Regions from separate parts of the Homo sapiens genome. Here region 1 is linked to region 2. Evidence: promoter capture Hi-C in human tissues and cell types (Jung and others, 2019). All regions are on one chromosome and are shown on one strand. Each heading gives the region's core, a stretch centred on a gene start or on the middle of the fragment in contact. The rest is flanking DNA. Distances are from core to core; before and after follow the strand shown. Region 1 holds the start of TOMM6 (translocase of outer mitochondrial membrane 6). Region 2 holds the start of CUL9 (cullin 9).

The links. The method cuts DNA at HindIII sites, captures the fragments that hold promoters and counts their contacts. A contact is called where the count stands out against the background at its distance.
Region 1: a contact is called between a fragment that was not itself captured here and the fragment with the promoter of CUL9 in region 2, in 1 of the 25 tissues and cell types used here (spleen).

The regions. Positions count from the first base shown.
Region 1 is chr6:41,787,492-41,793,875 of GRCh38, reverse strand. TOMM6 (translocase of outer mitochondrial membrane 6) reads right to left here and starts at 6,182. Exons shown (of 3, transcript NM_001382294.1): 1 at 6,051-6,182; 2 at 4,540-4,644; 3 at 3,981-4,308. The coding sequence starts at 6,178. The coding sequence ends at 4,548. It overlaps USP49 (ubiquitin specific peptidase 49), which reads left to right. Exons shown (of 8, transcript NM_001286554.2): 8 at 1-3,980. RefSeq lists enhancers at 5,735-6,384, 5,495-6,384. The HindIII fragment of the contact is 3,149 bases long and covers 1,980-5,128 here.
Region 2 is chr6:43,180,244-43,186,484 of GRCh38, reverse strand. CUL9 (cullin 9) reads right to left here and starts at 4,289. Exons shown (of 41, transcript NM_015089.4): 1 at 4,236-4,289; 2 at 1,580-2,183; 3 at 875-1,029; 4 at 30-530. The coding sequence starts at 2,174. SRF (serum response factor) reads right to left here. Exons shown (of 7, transcript NM_003131.4): 7 at 4,979-6,241. RefSeq lists enhancers at 1-105, 4,549-4,618 and silencers at 4,089-4,138, 4,159-4,298. The HindIII fragment of the contact is 4,480 bases long and covers 2,944-6,241 here.

The DNA of each region.
Region 1 (6,384 bases), core at 2,305-4,804, 1.4 Mb after region 2:
AGTTAAGAGTCTCATTCCAGGAACCCTTTGTAGTTAGTTGGCTGGCATGTTTACTTGCTGCTGTAGCCAGCCAAGATGAGTGCACCTAGGCCCTCAAAAAGGATTTTTTTTTACCTCAATCTAGCCTGACCCTCATATCTGTGGTTGCCTCTGAGACGAACATCCATGCTAGTATAAAAATAGTTAGGAATGCCCTTGGCAGAACTGAAGCTCTTATTAAATGGTGGACAGAGCTCTTGCCAGCTTTGATCCAGCCCCTCAGTCTCGGAGTTATGGGGCAGGGTTGGGGGGCAGTGCTACACTGTAAAGAATTTCCAGGCTGGGCGCGGTGGCTCATGCCTGTAATCCCAGCACTTTGGGAGGCCGAGGAGGGCGGATCACAAGGTCAAGAGATTGAGATCATCCTGGCCAACATGGTGAAACTCCGTCTCTACTAAAAATACAAAAATTAGCTGGGCATGGTGGCACGTGCCTGTAGTCCCAGCTACTTGGGAGGCTGAGGCAGGAGAATCGCTGGAACCCAGGAGGCAGAAGGGGCAGTGAGCCGAGATCGTGCCACTGCACTCCAGCCTGGCGACAGAGCGAGACTCTGTCTTAAAAAAAAAACAAAAACAAAAACAAAAAAAAAAAAAGAATTTCCAGATGTCTCTTAAAATGTCATGAATAAAATTGGAAACTGTAGAAGTGTTAATGTGTCCTATGGACTCAATAGCAGAGTTTATTTTTGTTTTTAATGGCAAGGCTTCTAGAGTCAATGATTGTATGAGTTTGCTACTCTGGCTGTGCTTACAGCTTCATCCAAGTACAAGGGAAGAACCAATGAGGTGGATTGGCTGACAGTGGGGCATGCCCCAGCATAAGCCCTAGAGAGGTCGACAGTAGTGCAGAATGAAAACTTGGTCGGGGATGGCGGGTGGTGGGTGGGAGGAGGGTGGGCTGGCCGGGAGGGAGAAATGGAGTTTGTTCTACTTACTGATAAAGCTTTGTGAACTAATTTTATACAATTCATAAAATTTGGTGCCTTGTACTCAATTACGGTTTGCATGGAATTGAAAAGATTAAGGGAAAGGATTTCTTCTTGTCATTTCAAGTGGCAAATGGGTCTGTGTAGTGTTTAAAGGACATCTGGTATCACAGACTTTTAAAAAGCATTTCATGTCTCTTGTGTGTGAATGCAAATTATTCTTACCAGCAAGTTCTGAAATTATGTTACAATGTCCAAATTCTTTGTATTTGTGACTGTTCATCAAATGGCTGCTTTTCAAGGCAGACTGTGTACTCCATTGTTTTTCACTTCCCTTGTCATGTTCCATACATTGACTTGGGCCTTTTTAAATCAGGCTGGGGGGCTACCCCTTCTTAAATGAATACTATATCCCTATCTGAGGTTACCTCTTGTGAGTGGAAGGGTTGCTTTCCCAGGTGGTTGGGAGAGCACAAATGTTGAGAAAAGGCCTTTTAGTCTTTATCAAAACAATGACTAATGCTGGGCAACATATAGCAGAAGTCAAACAAAAATGATTCCTCCTGAAATGGTACCTTCATTGGTTCTGATGTTCTTTTGCAAAAAATGTCCGGAAGCAGTATAGAAAACCCCCTGTATGTGAACCTTAGATTGTAAGGCAAGCCAGTGCACTGTGTAATATGCAAAGGGAGTGGTGCAAAAGAGAAGGCACCCGTCCCAGCTCTCCATGCCCTTTCCCTGGCAGGCGCTGACTGAGATGGCGCTGAGTGAATGTGGAAGGTGCTAAGACCCAGTCTCTTCACTGCAGGGCTGTTTACAGCCAGTTTCTTTTACTCTGACCTTAAGGTTTCCACTGAGCTCATGAAACTTCAACATATGGTGTTTAAAAGTTTCCCACTCAAATGCACACTTGAAAATTGGGTCCCTCAGCCTCATTACTGAACTAAATAAGTGAAGAAGTTGTATCTTTGGGGTAAAACTTTCCAGGGCCACTTAATTTTTTAACCAGTTAAGTACGCATCTTCCTGGTGGTTCAGACTTTTTAAGTCAGTGCTAAAGCTGAAAAGCGCCTTCTAAATATGACTGTGAGTTTAGTTTGTATCTTACATTTAGTAACTGTTCTGTTGGGCCAGGACTATGACTTTAATTACTATGTACTTATTCATCCCACACTCTGCACTAAATACACCATAGCTACTATAGCATTGTGGCAGGCACTCATTTTTGTGGACTCATTCCATACTTCTGCTGGCATATTTCGTTTAAAATCTAGCTAAAGATTTTCATAGTACTGTGTTAACTAGCCAGGGCTGAAAAGTGTGACAGGATATCAAATTGACTTTCCTTGGGGAAAATGTTGCTTTGGCAATAGTGAAGTCCAACTCCTTCATTTACAGAATTAGTGATTACTCATCAATTTTTGAAAGTTGTAGATTAAGTAGTTTTATTTACTAAATTCTTAACCACTTTGAAGATTTAAGCCAGTTGAAATGAAACATTGGCTGGATGCAGTTGGCTAGCACCTGTAATCCCAACACTTTGGGAGGCCAAGGTGGGAGGATTGCTTGAGGCCAGGAGCTCAAGACCAGCCTGGGAAACATAGATTTGAAATCTTTTCAAAAATGTATAAAAATTTAATAAATAAATAAATGAATCCTTACTCAACCATAATTATGGCTTTAAAACCCAACCAACAGTAAACACTTACTTGAAGCCAAAACAGTAAATTTTGAATGAAATTTGAATTATGCTTTTGGAAGCTGCCATGTCTTAATTCTTGCTGGATTTTGATTTTCAATTTTGGAAGTTTTTATCAAAACTGTCCAGTCATGAGTATATCAGGTAGCAGCCTTTAAGGATCTAAGTTTCATTCCTATAAAGAACAGGAGGTGCTGGTATTTCTTGTCTTAGCAAGTGATCTGATGCAGGTCTAAATGGGGGTTAGCATCTATACTATGGCTTAAAAGTTTCCTCCTTGGTCACCATTTGGGAGGTGATGGCTTCAAAGCTAAGCTTTGCTCTCATGTGACCCTTCTTTATCTTAATACCCAATAAGATATAAACCTCTCAGAGTCAACCCAGTGTAGACTCAAAGGGTCTTAGCTTCATCTATCAGATAAGATCTATCTGATTTATACAAAGAATGGTGCTGTTTTTATATACATACTAAAAAAATCTAATTCTCAAACAATTTTCTTAATATTTATGCCAGCAAGGTCAGGAAAGACTATTTTGTCCTGTTTAACTTTAGTAGTGAACAAACTGCTAGAGACATCTGTCATCCTTAACAGGCCACTGTGGTCCTTATATACTGACCCTCCTTTCCAATTAACGTCCTTTAATCCCATACTAGTTCCATAAGAGACTTGGCACATAAAAGCAGTATTTTTTTTAATGCCTAGTAAACTGGCCAGAAAAAAATATTGCCATGGTGGACCTGTTTCTATCCACCTCTTTCTATGGCTATATAAGTCTATACATGCCAGTTCCGTACATACTCCATTTCCAAAGAGCCCCCAAACCCTGGACAGTAGCACTACCATGAATTTTAGGGTCACAAAACATTTCCTTCTGAAGGAAGCAGCTGCCTCAGCAGTGTCACTTTAGTGACCACTGCCCAGGCTTACTTCACTTTGCCTCCCCCTACACATCACTGCCCTCTTTCTGCCACCAAACCTCACTATTCCAGCAATGATGCCTCCCTGGTGTCTGGAAAACCCATCTGGTGCACTAAAATGCTATGCAACACCAAATGGCTTCTTCCCCTAATATTGCTCAACAATGTAAATTCTTCAAGAATAAACTTCATGCTAGGTTAACATCAATGTATGGTTACAGCTTCCTTTTTTTTTTTTCCCTTTTAAAATGAAGCAAACCACCTCCATTAAAATCCATGTTTTGGGGCTTGTTTTTGTCTCTCAAGTGTGAAATATAAATCATGTTTTTATGATTTTTGTAAATCTTTTTACACCTTGTTTTTGTAAGCAAAAGTTTCTTATTAAAAGAATAAAATGACTGCCTTTGTGTGCGGTATTTATTTCAAATGTTTTTTAAAACAGCACTGTTATTTCTCAGGACAAGAGCAAAAATCACCCCCTGCAGAAGCTTGGGAACTATGTACAGAACTTTACAGAATAGAGGCAATACTTTAGCTTAAGCCTGTCTGCTGACCAGAGAATGGAATTCTGCGTGGACTCAAGGAACAAAAGGAAACTAGGCAGGGAAGGGGAAGAAAAGTGCCCATCTGAATCAAACTTCAGCTGCCATCAGGGCACATCTTGTGGTGGTCACAGATTGTAGGCTGTTTTTTGGAAGATTCGGGTTCAGCACAGGATTCCATTTGTCTGCAATCAGATGATAAGACGACAGGTGGCATTAGAACTGTAAAAGTATGGGAGGGAAACTGGTAAGAGATACTTAAATCCCTTTCAACATCTGAAAACACATTTAACTAGGAATAGTTAAGGGTTTTACATCACATTCTTTTGTACATTTCATGAATACTTGACAGAAAACATTGCTTCACCCAGTCTCTAGGTCTCCTAAGACACGCATGGGTGTAGTTCAGTGCTTACCTACTTGGCTACACCCCTGGCTGAGGTGCCATGAGGTCAATGTCACTCAAGTTCCTGGCCAGCCAAACTCCCGCAGCAAAGAGTCCCAAATTTAGTATCAAGTTCCTGGAAAAACAATGTGTTTTATTAACCCTGTGGTCACTGAGTCAGTTGTACAGTTAACGAAATGTACTGGGGGGAAAGGCTTCCATCACCACCTTCCCGAGGCGTTGATACGTGGTTGTGACGGCAGGTTGCTCAAGACCCACGTGGGAATTTGGAGTTCATTTTTGTGCCTAGTAAGTGTAAGGTCAGGCTGGGCGCGGTGGTTCACGCCTGTAATCCCAGCACTTTGGAAGGCCAAGGCAGGCGGATCACGAAGTCAGGAGCTCGAGACCAGCCTGGCCAACATGGTGAAACCCCGTCTCTACTAAAAATACAAAAATTAGCTGGGCGTGGTGGTGCGCGCCTGTAATCCCAGCTACTGGGGAGGCTGAGGCAGGAAAATCGCTTGAACCCGGGAGGCGGAGGCTGCAGTGAGCTGAGGTCCGCCACTACACTCCAGCCTGGGCGACAGAGCGAGGCTGTCTCAAAAAGAAATAAATGTGGCCGGGCGCGGTGGCTCACGCCTGTAATCCCAGCACTTTGGGAGGCAGAGTCGGGTGGATCGAGAAGTCAGGAGTTTGAGACCAGCCTGCCCAAGATGGTGAAACCCCGTCTCTACTAAAAATACAAAAATTAGCTGGGCGTGGTGGCGCGCGCTTGTAATCCCAGCTACTGGGGAGGCTGAGGCAGGAGAATCGCTTGAACCCGGGAGGCAGAAGGGGCAGTGAGCCGAGATTGCGCCTCTGCACTCCAGCCTGGGCGACAGAGTGAGACTCCGTCTCAAAAAAAAAAAAAAAAAAAAAAAAAAAGGCCGGGCGTGGTGGCTCACGCCTGTAATCCCAGCACTTTGGGAGGCCGAGGCGGGCGGATCACGAGGTCAGGAGATCGAGACCATCCTGGATAACACGGTGAAACCCCGTCTCTACTAAAAATACAAAAAATTAGCAGGGCGTGGTGGCGGGCGGCCGTAGTCCCAGCTACTCGGGAGGCTGAGGCAGGAGAATGGCGTGAACCCGGGAGGCGGAGCTTGCAGTGAGCCGAGATCGCGCCACTGCACTCCAGCCTGGGCAACAGAGTGAGACTCCGTCTCAAAAAAAAAAAAAAAACAAAAAAGAAATGTAAGATCAAACGCAAAGCCCAGCTAAAGCACTAGTCCAGGGCCGAAAAAGCCTGTTTACGTGCTAGCACTTCTTCCCTTGATCAGGGTGACATTACAGATACAGCCACATGACAGAAAGATCGCTTTTGCCACACGGGAACTCTCCTGGCCAGGGATCTCAGTGAGGCACAGCCAGAGCTACGAAGACGCCACAATGCTGGTAATGTTAAAAAACAAAAACAAAAAACCCTGAGGCGCCAGCCTCGCAAGAAAGGGGAAATACGGATTTAAGGGCCAGAAAAGGACCAAGTTCCTCGGGCTCGGTTACCTCCGGAAGTCATTCCTATCAGTGGCAAAGCGGTAGACGCCCCGAAGCCAATCTCCCACGTTGTCCGGTATTTCGGGAGTTTCATTAGCCGAGCCAGCAGCGCTCACCGGGACAGTGCTGGAAGCCATAGTGGAAAGCTTCGCATGGGCCTCGGTGGAGGAACCGTATCGGCGTCGCCGGTGAATGACGCACCTCCGGTCTGGCACTTCCGGCTGCTACCGGCCGGCAGTGGGGGCGCTGTTCGCTTAGTCCGACATCCGGAAGAGGGACGGCCCTCTGCTGCGCCTCCACGAACTCTAGGAGGGGAGGAGCGCGGCCCGGTTCTACGGTCCCC
Region 2 (6,241 bases), core at 3,040-5,539:
ACAGTGTCTCACCACCATGTGCTGCCCACCTGCACAGGGGGAATGCCGTTGTTGCTCTGCCGGAACTCGCCCTCGTCCCCAGCACTGATCTCCTCATAATCATCCAGCATCCGCACTCGCATCCCTGGCTGCAGTGTCTGCTGCACATATTCTCCATAGCCACTACGGCTGGAGAATTCAGAGCGCTGGCGGAAGACCCACCCTTGTCTTCTGGGGGTGGTGACAATGGTGGGGAGTAAAAGGCTGGGGCCTGAAATGTAGGGCTGAAAGATGGACCGGGTTGGCCGGGGAGGTGACATGCCCTGTTCGCTGAGGTTCCGGGCCCAGCCCATGCTCCGCACAAGCTCAGAGATGAGGTTGCCCACAGCCATGCTGAACTCCAGTTCCCGCTGTCCCCGGCTTTTCTCTCTTGTGGCACATGGGGAGCTTTGGTCTCCAGCTCCCAGCTCTGGACTGCTATTCAGCTGATCCAGGAGGGACGTGACACAAAGGTAGCGCTTCACCAAGGAGAAAAGCAGCTTTCCTGGGATCTGTAAGACACAATCCTTGGGACAGGTTCATCTCTTCCTGGCTTTAGCCTCTCCCCTTCCCTGAAGTATCCTCCTCTACAGAAAAATATAAAGGCCTTCTCCCCAGGCCTGTAGTTCTGAAACTTTGATTTGTGTAAGAAAGGCATAGGGAGTGTCTTAAAACACAGATTCCTGGGTTCTCATCTCAGAAATTCTGAATGGAGAGGGGCTGGGAGGGAGGACATGAACCTTCATGTTAACAAGTTCCCAGGTGGCTCTGGTGCTAACATTCAGTCCTGAACCACGTTTTCATAAATAATGTCTTAGCCCTTGTACACAGCATTTCCCTACAGCTGGCAGTGTACCTGAGGCAGATGAATGCCCTCAAAGGCCATGCAGTGTTCTTCAGAGGATGTGGTTTCTGCAAACAGCTCCAGCAATGTATAGCGACTGTCAAAATCCATGTGCTGCTCGATGCCATCTTGCTGGCTCAGTGATAGAAGGACGTGAGCCCGACTCCCTGTAATCCATACCCAATCCATATCTTCTCCTCAATCCCCAGTACTTTCTCCCTGCCTTTCCTAGATTCTATCTCCTACCCCAGACGCTTTCAAACTTTGTTACTAAGGCTCACAGAAAGAAATACATTTTACATGGTAACCTGTTACAAACATACATACATATAACTGAAACATATATTTTATGCTACAAAATTTACCCCTACTAAGTGCTACACACTAATGACTTAAGTTTTTAAAAAAATGTTGGTTGTAACCCACCAAATTGATTTCAAAACCAACTAATAAATCTCAATCCAGTTTCAAAAATACAGATAAGTCCTATTCTCTTCTCTGGTCAATGCACTGAGAATGAACAGATAAGCCAGAGGCTATCATTTTAGCCTCTTTATATACCTGAAATAGCCTATTAATCTATATTTTTTCCTTTGCATCAAATTGATATTCACCAAATACTAGGTGTTCTTACAGAGCTAGGAAATCTCTCCTCTTTCTTATTCCCTGTGGCCCCATTTTCTCCATTCCTTTCCTTCTTCCCTGGCTGTCTCTTACCAGCATCGTGGGCTGCCAGAGCCTGCAGCATTTTGCCTGCACTCCGGCGGATCTGAGGCTCAGGATTGCATAACATGTGCATGAGCAGGTCCAGGGCTCCTGTCTCCCTGAAGACACCAGTGAGGGGCCCGATGCTGGCGTAGGCACTGAGCACGTGGATGGTGTGAAGCACAGCGGCCGTGAGGCTTGGGGTCCCACTTTCTGCCAGCTGCCTGGCCGCCCTGCGTACCAGCGCCTGAACATCAGCCTCCATCTCTCCCATTGCCACTTCATCCAGGCCTCCTGGATCTCGAGGAAAGCTTCCTGAAACCCCAGCTGGTTCGTGCTGAAGTCCCTTAGATAGTGCCCGCTCACCTAACAGCCCAGGGCAGTTGGCGTAGACCTCAGGAGCCGACAGCCACATGAGGATGTGCTCTGCTTTGCCTTCTTCCACACCCACTTTGCCCACTTCCCCACACTTCAGGACACTCCATCGGATCAGGTATTCAGGATGCCCGTCATGCCCAGGCCTCTGTCGAATGAGTTCTTCAGGATATGCCTGCAGCCGAGGCCCTAAGGGCACCATGAGGTCCCCAGCATGCCGTTCCCCCACCATCCTGACCTCCTGGGATACACAAGGAGAAAGATAAGGCAGTATGAGAAAAGAAAAAAAATACATGGAGGGGGTGGAATCTTGAGACACAGAGAAGGTGGGTGGTGATCGGTAGGCTGCATGGTAGAATTTAGGAGGCCAAACAGAAAAGGCAAAAAATAGGATGGAATAAATAGCTGAACATACTTTGGGATTTATAACAGAAGGAGAATGGAGTGAAGACAGAGAGGGGATGAAGAAGGGGTTTAAGAAATGGAAGAGTTGGCTGCGCCCAGTGGCTCACGCCTGTAATCCCAGCACTTTAGGAGGCCAAGGTGGGCAGATCACGAGGTCAGGAATTCAAGTCCAGCCTGGTCAACATAGTGAAACCCCGTCTCTACTAAAAATACAAAAATTAGCCAGGTGTGGTGGCACATGCCCGTAGTCCCAGCTACTCAGGAGGCTGAGGCAGGAGAATCACTTGAACCCAGGAGGCGGAGGTTGCAGTGAGCCAAGACCGCGCCACTGTACTCCAGCCTGGGCAACAGAGTGAGATTCTGTCAAAAAAAAGAAAAAAAGAAAGAAAGAGAGAGAGAGGAAGGAAGGAAGGAAGGAAGGAAGGAAGGAAGAAAGGAAGGAAGGGGAGTTTACAAAAAGAGAATTAAAACAGTAATAGGCAAAGTAACAATAAACAGAGTGACAGTTAAGCAAGACAGTTTAGGCAGGATAGCAGGGTGGCTGAGGGTTACAGATTAGGACTTAGAAGAATGACATGGGTGGACAGGAAGGACAGCAGCATGTGAGGCAGTGGGATCAGAACATGTGAGGAAAAGTAGGATAGCGGAGGGGCAGGACAGGGAGCATAAATGACAGAGTAAAGCTGCAAGGTGGATGTAAAGGGTGGGCCATGGCAGATATAGAGAATGGAGATGACAAAAGGCTGGGATGTTGGGGCAAATGACTGGATAGGAAAAGTATATTCGAGTCTTGTGAAAGGGGGAGGGCCCTAGGGACCAGATAAAATTATGGGAAAGATGACCAGGTCCCACCCTGCCCTTATACTGCATGTATGGTAAGGATTTAAGTAAGTTAAGTAGATAAGATAGAGGTGGTAATCATGGGGTTAAAGGTAGGAAATGAGGTCAGGAGAGAAGCAATATTCAGAGACTTCAGTATCAGATAAATGTGACTCTGAATTCTGGCTTTCTGTCTCACTGTCTGCATAGTTTGGAACAAGTTACTTAACCTCTGAGCTTGTTTCCTCTTCTGCAAGATGGTAGTAATATTCATAGTTACTTCATGAATTTAGTAGGATCATGTATGTAAAGCACTTGGAACAGCATCTAGCACATAAAGAGTGTTCAGTAAACATAATCTGTTATTATTCTTAGATGGAGAAGGTAGGGGAGTCATCAAATAAATGCAAAGTTATTAAGACCGATTATAAATGGGAGTGGAATAATCAGGAAAGATATGCGTGATATGAAGCAGTGCAGGGGCAACAGGGAATAGTGAGAATAAGAATGGAAGAAGGTAAACCCAGATGAAGATATAGTGGTCAGGGCAGGGGTCATGTTGGGGTACAGGGACAGAAGATGAGAGTAGAGGTGAAGAGGAGGGAGAAAGATGGATGTGGACCTCAATGGAGGTAGGGGTCCACTTAGGATGGGGGGCAAGCCTGGATGGTAGCCAGCGATGTGCCAGCGGGCAACTGATTAGCAGCAGGGGGAAGTAAAAGAATCGGATAGGAGGAGGTAGGAGGTGTAACGTCGGCCTAGAAGAGCAACAATAAACTGAGGTGTGGGGGTGAGCTCTGGACGCATGGATGAGACCAGCAGATAGCAAGGTCAAGCCCAAGCTTGCAGAGCCGTGGGGAGGTGGAGGAGGCCAGCACCGCAGAGGGAACGGGTTTGGGGGGAGGGGGAAGGATGGTTGGGGGCGCGGTCCAAAAAAGCTGAAAAGATCCAGTGAATCTCAGAGAGCAAGACCTGGTTCCCTTCGTCAGCCCCATGGACAGTGGCTAAAGGACCGGGGAGGGGACAGGAGAAGGGGAGGGATTGGGTCGGCGCAGAACTCTCCTCTCACCTCCCACCGCCCGGCTCAGCCCTCGCTGGGACCCAGCGGCCGGTCCCGCCGTCCTGGCCCCGCCTCCTCAGAGCTCCCTTCCGGGTCACACGGCGAGTGCACGCACGGCCGGGCACCTACGGGTCCCACCGCGGCCCACGCCGAGCGTGGCGGAACAGCGCGCGAGTGGAGCATGCGTGCTACCGCGGGCGGCTGCACTGGAAGAGGGGCGTGGGGGCGCGCTACCGGAGGAGCCTGGGATCGAGGTCACGTTGCTCCTCTCTCAGCAGCAGGAAGAAGCCGTTTCCATCCAGTCAACTGTGAAGCCCCCTCCTCTTCACTGGGTCGGCCCTCCTAATCCTCCCTCTCCCATCACAGCGATCATGCTGACGAAACATGGTAACCCACATTCCCACCTTAAGGCTGCCCTTTTTGACTTTTCAGTAGGTCAGGTGCCCATGAGTTTCCCAAACCCTTCAGCAATGCTTTGGATTAGTTGTGTCACTTTTCCTGTTAATTAAAATTTGCTCCTCTGCGTTGGCCTTAACACCTAGCGAAGCCACGCACAGGGAGAAGGTCCTCGGCCCCGCAAAACTTTCCTTAAATTAAATCGTATAGAATTAAACAGCCCAAAGCACACCTTAGCATTACCGTTCTCATCAAGCAGCCCGGATCGCTACTCAGAGCAGCAATTTTAGGAGTTTGCCTCGCGTTCATACCCCCATCCCTCCCTAAGTAGAAAAACAGAACCAAAGACCCCACAGTCTGTGCACAAAAATGATACATTTATTGAAAGAGTATTTTTTTTTAATACAAAAGAAAGCTCTGTACATAGGACTGTGACCATGTCCACTATTCCTGGGTCAGCATCCCAGGGGAAGTAGAAACCACTGACATACACACTCACATTCAAGCACACACACTCACTCAGGCGCACACACCCACACACACATACCCCAGAGCCACCGAGGAAGGGAAACACCAAGGGTCGCTGCACATAAAAATATCACCTCAACTCATCCCTGACACACGCATGTCCTCCCAAGGCCACGCTCACACAACACACATTATAAGCACTTTGCCTGATTCACTCACTGGGTCTGTCTTTTGTGGGAAGGAGAGGAAGAATTCATCAAAGGTCTCCTCCCCATGGGTGGGGGAGTGGGGAGTGAGTGAGTGATGGTGGAGTGAAACAAGAGCAGAGAAAAGGGGCTGGGCAGTTACAGACCTGAGTCCCAAGCTCCCCTGCTCTCTGGCCCCTGATTTGCCATGCCCCAGCCTTGAAAGCCACCCATAAGCCCCAGCTATCTCCAGGAGAAAGCCCAGAAAGGTGACTTCCATCTTGGCACCCCAAACTGGGGCAAGACAGCAATGAGGGTTAGAGGTTAGGGGGTTCTCAAACATGTCGGCAAATCATCCCCTTGATAACTAGGCTGTGCATAAAATCTTCCCCCATCCCTTCACCTAATCACAGAAGCCAGCTTGTTCCTACTGAAGGCAGTCTTAGGGGTTAAGAAAATTTCACCCCACTGCTGCCCTGTTTCTGAAAAAGCTCCCCTTCTGGATATAGGTGGTGAAGGTAGGCTCTGACACAGGGTAAAAGACCCTCCCCCCTATGCTGGCCCACCCTCAAGGTCTACCCCAAAGGGGGAGGAGGGGGGTGGGGCATGGCCCCTGTACAAATTACATAAATACTGAGGTTACACTTAGAAAAATAAAGTCATTTTCTTCAAGGCTTTTTGTCTTAATTTAAAAAAGTTACAGTAGCTGCTCACTCCCTGGGAGAACTGCCCATTTCTGGCTCCCCTTTGGCTGCACTCAGCCCAAGAAGCTGCTCCCACTTCTTCTGACCCCCATTCCTGCCTCTCACCCCCTCCCAGACCCCACCCTGCTCACTGCAACTTGGGCCCCAGGCAGCTGCATGCCTGGGACAGCGCAAGGCTGCAATGCCCATGCGTGTGGCACAAATGAAGTCAGTTGCCTCTGCCTGACGCCCTCCCACCCCAACCCCGACATTTGGTCTCCCT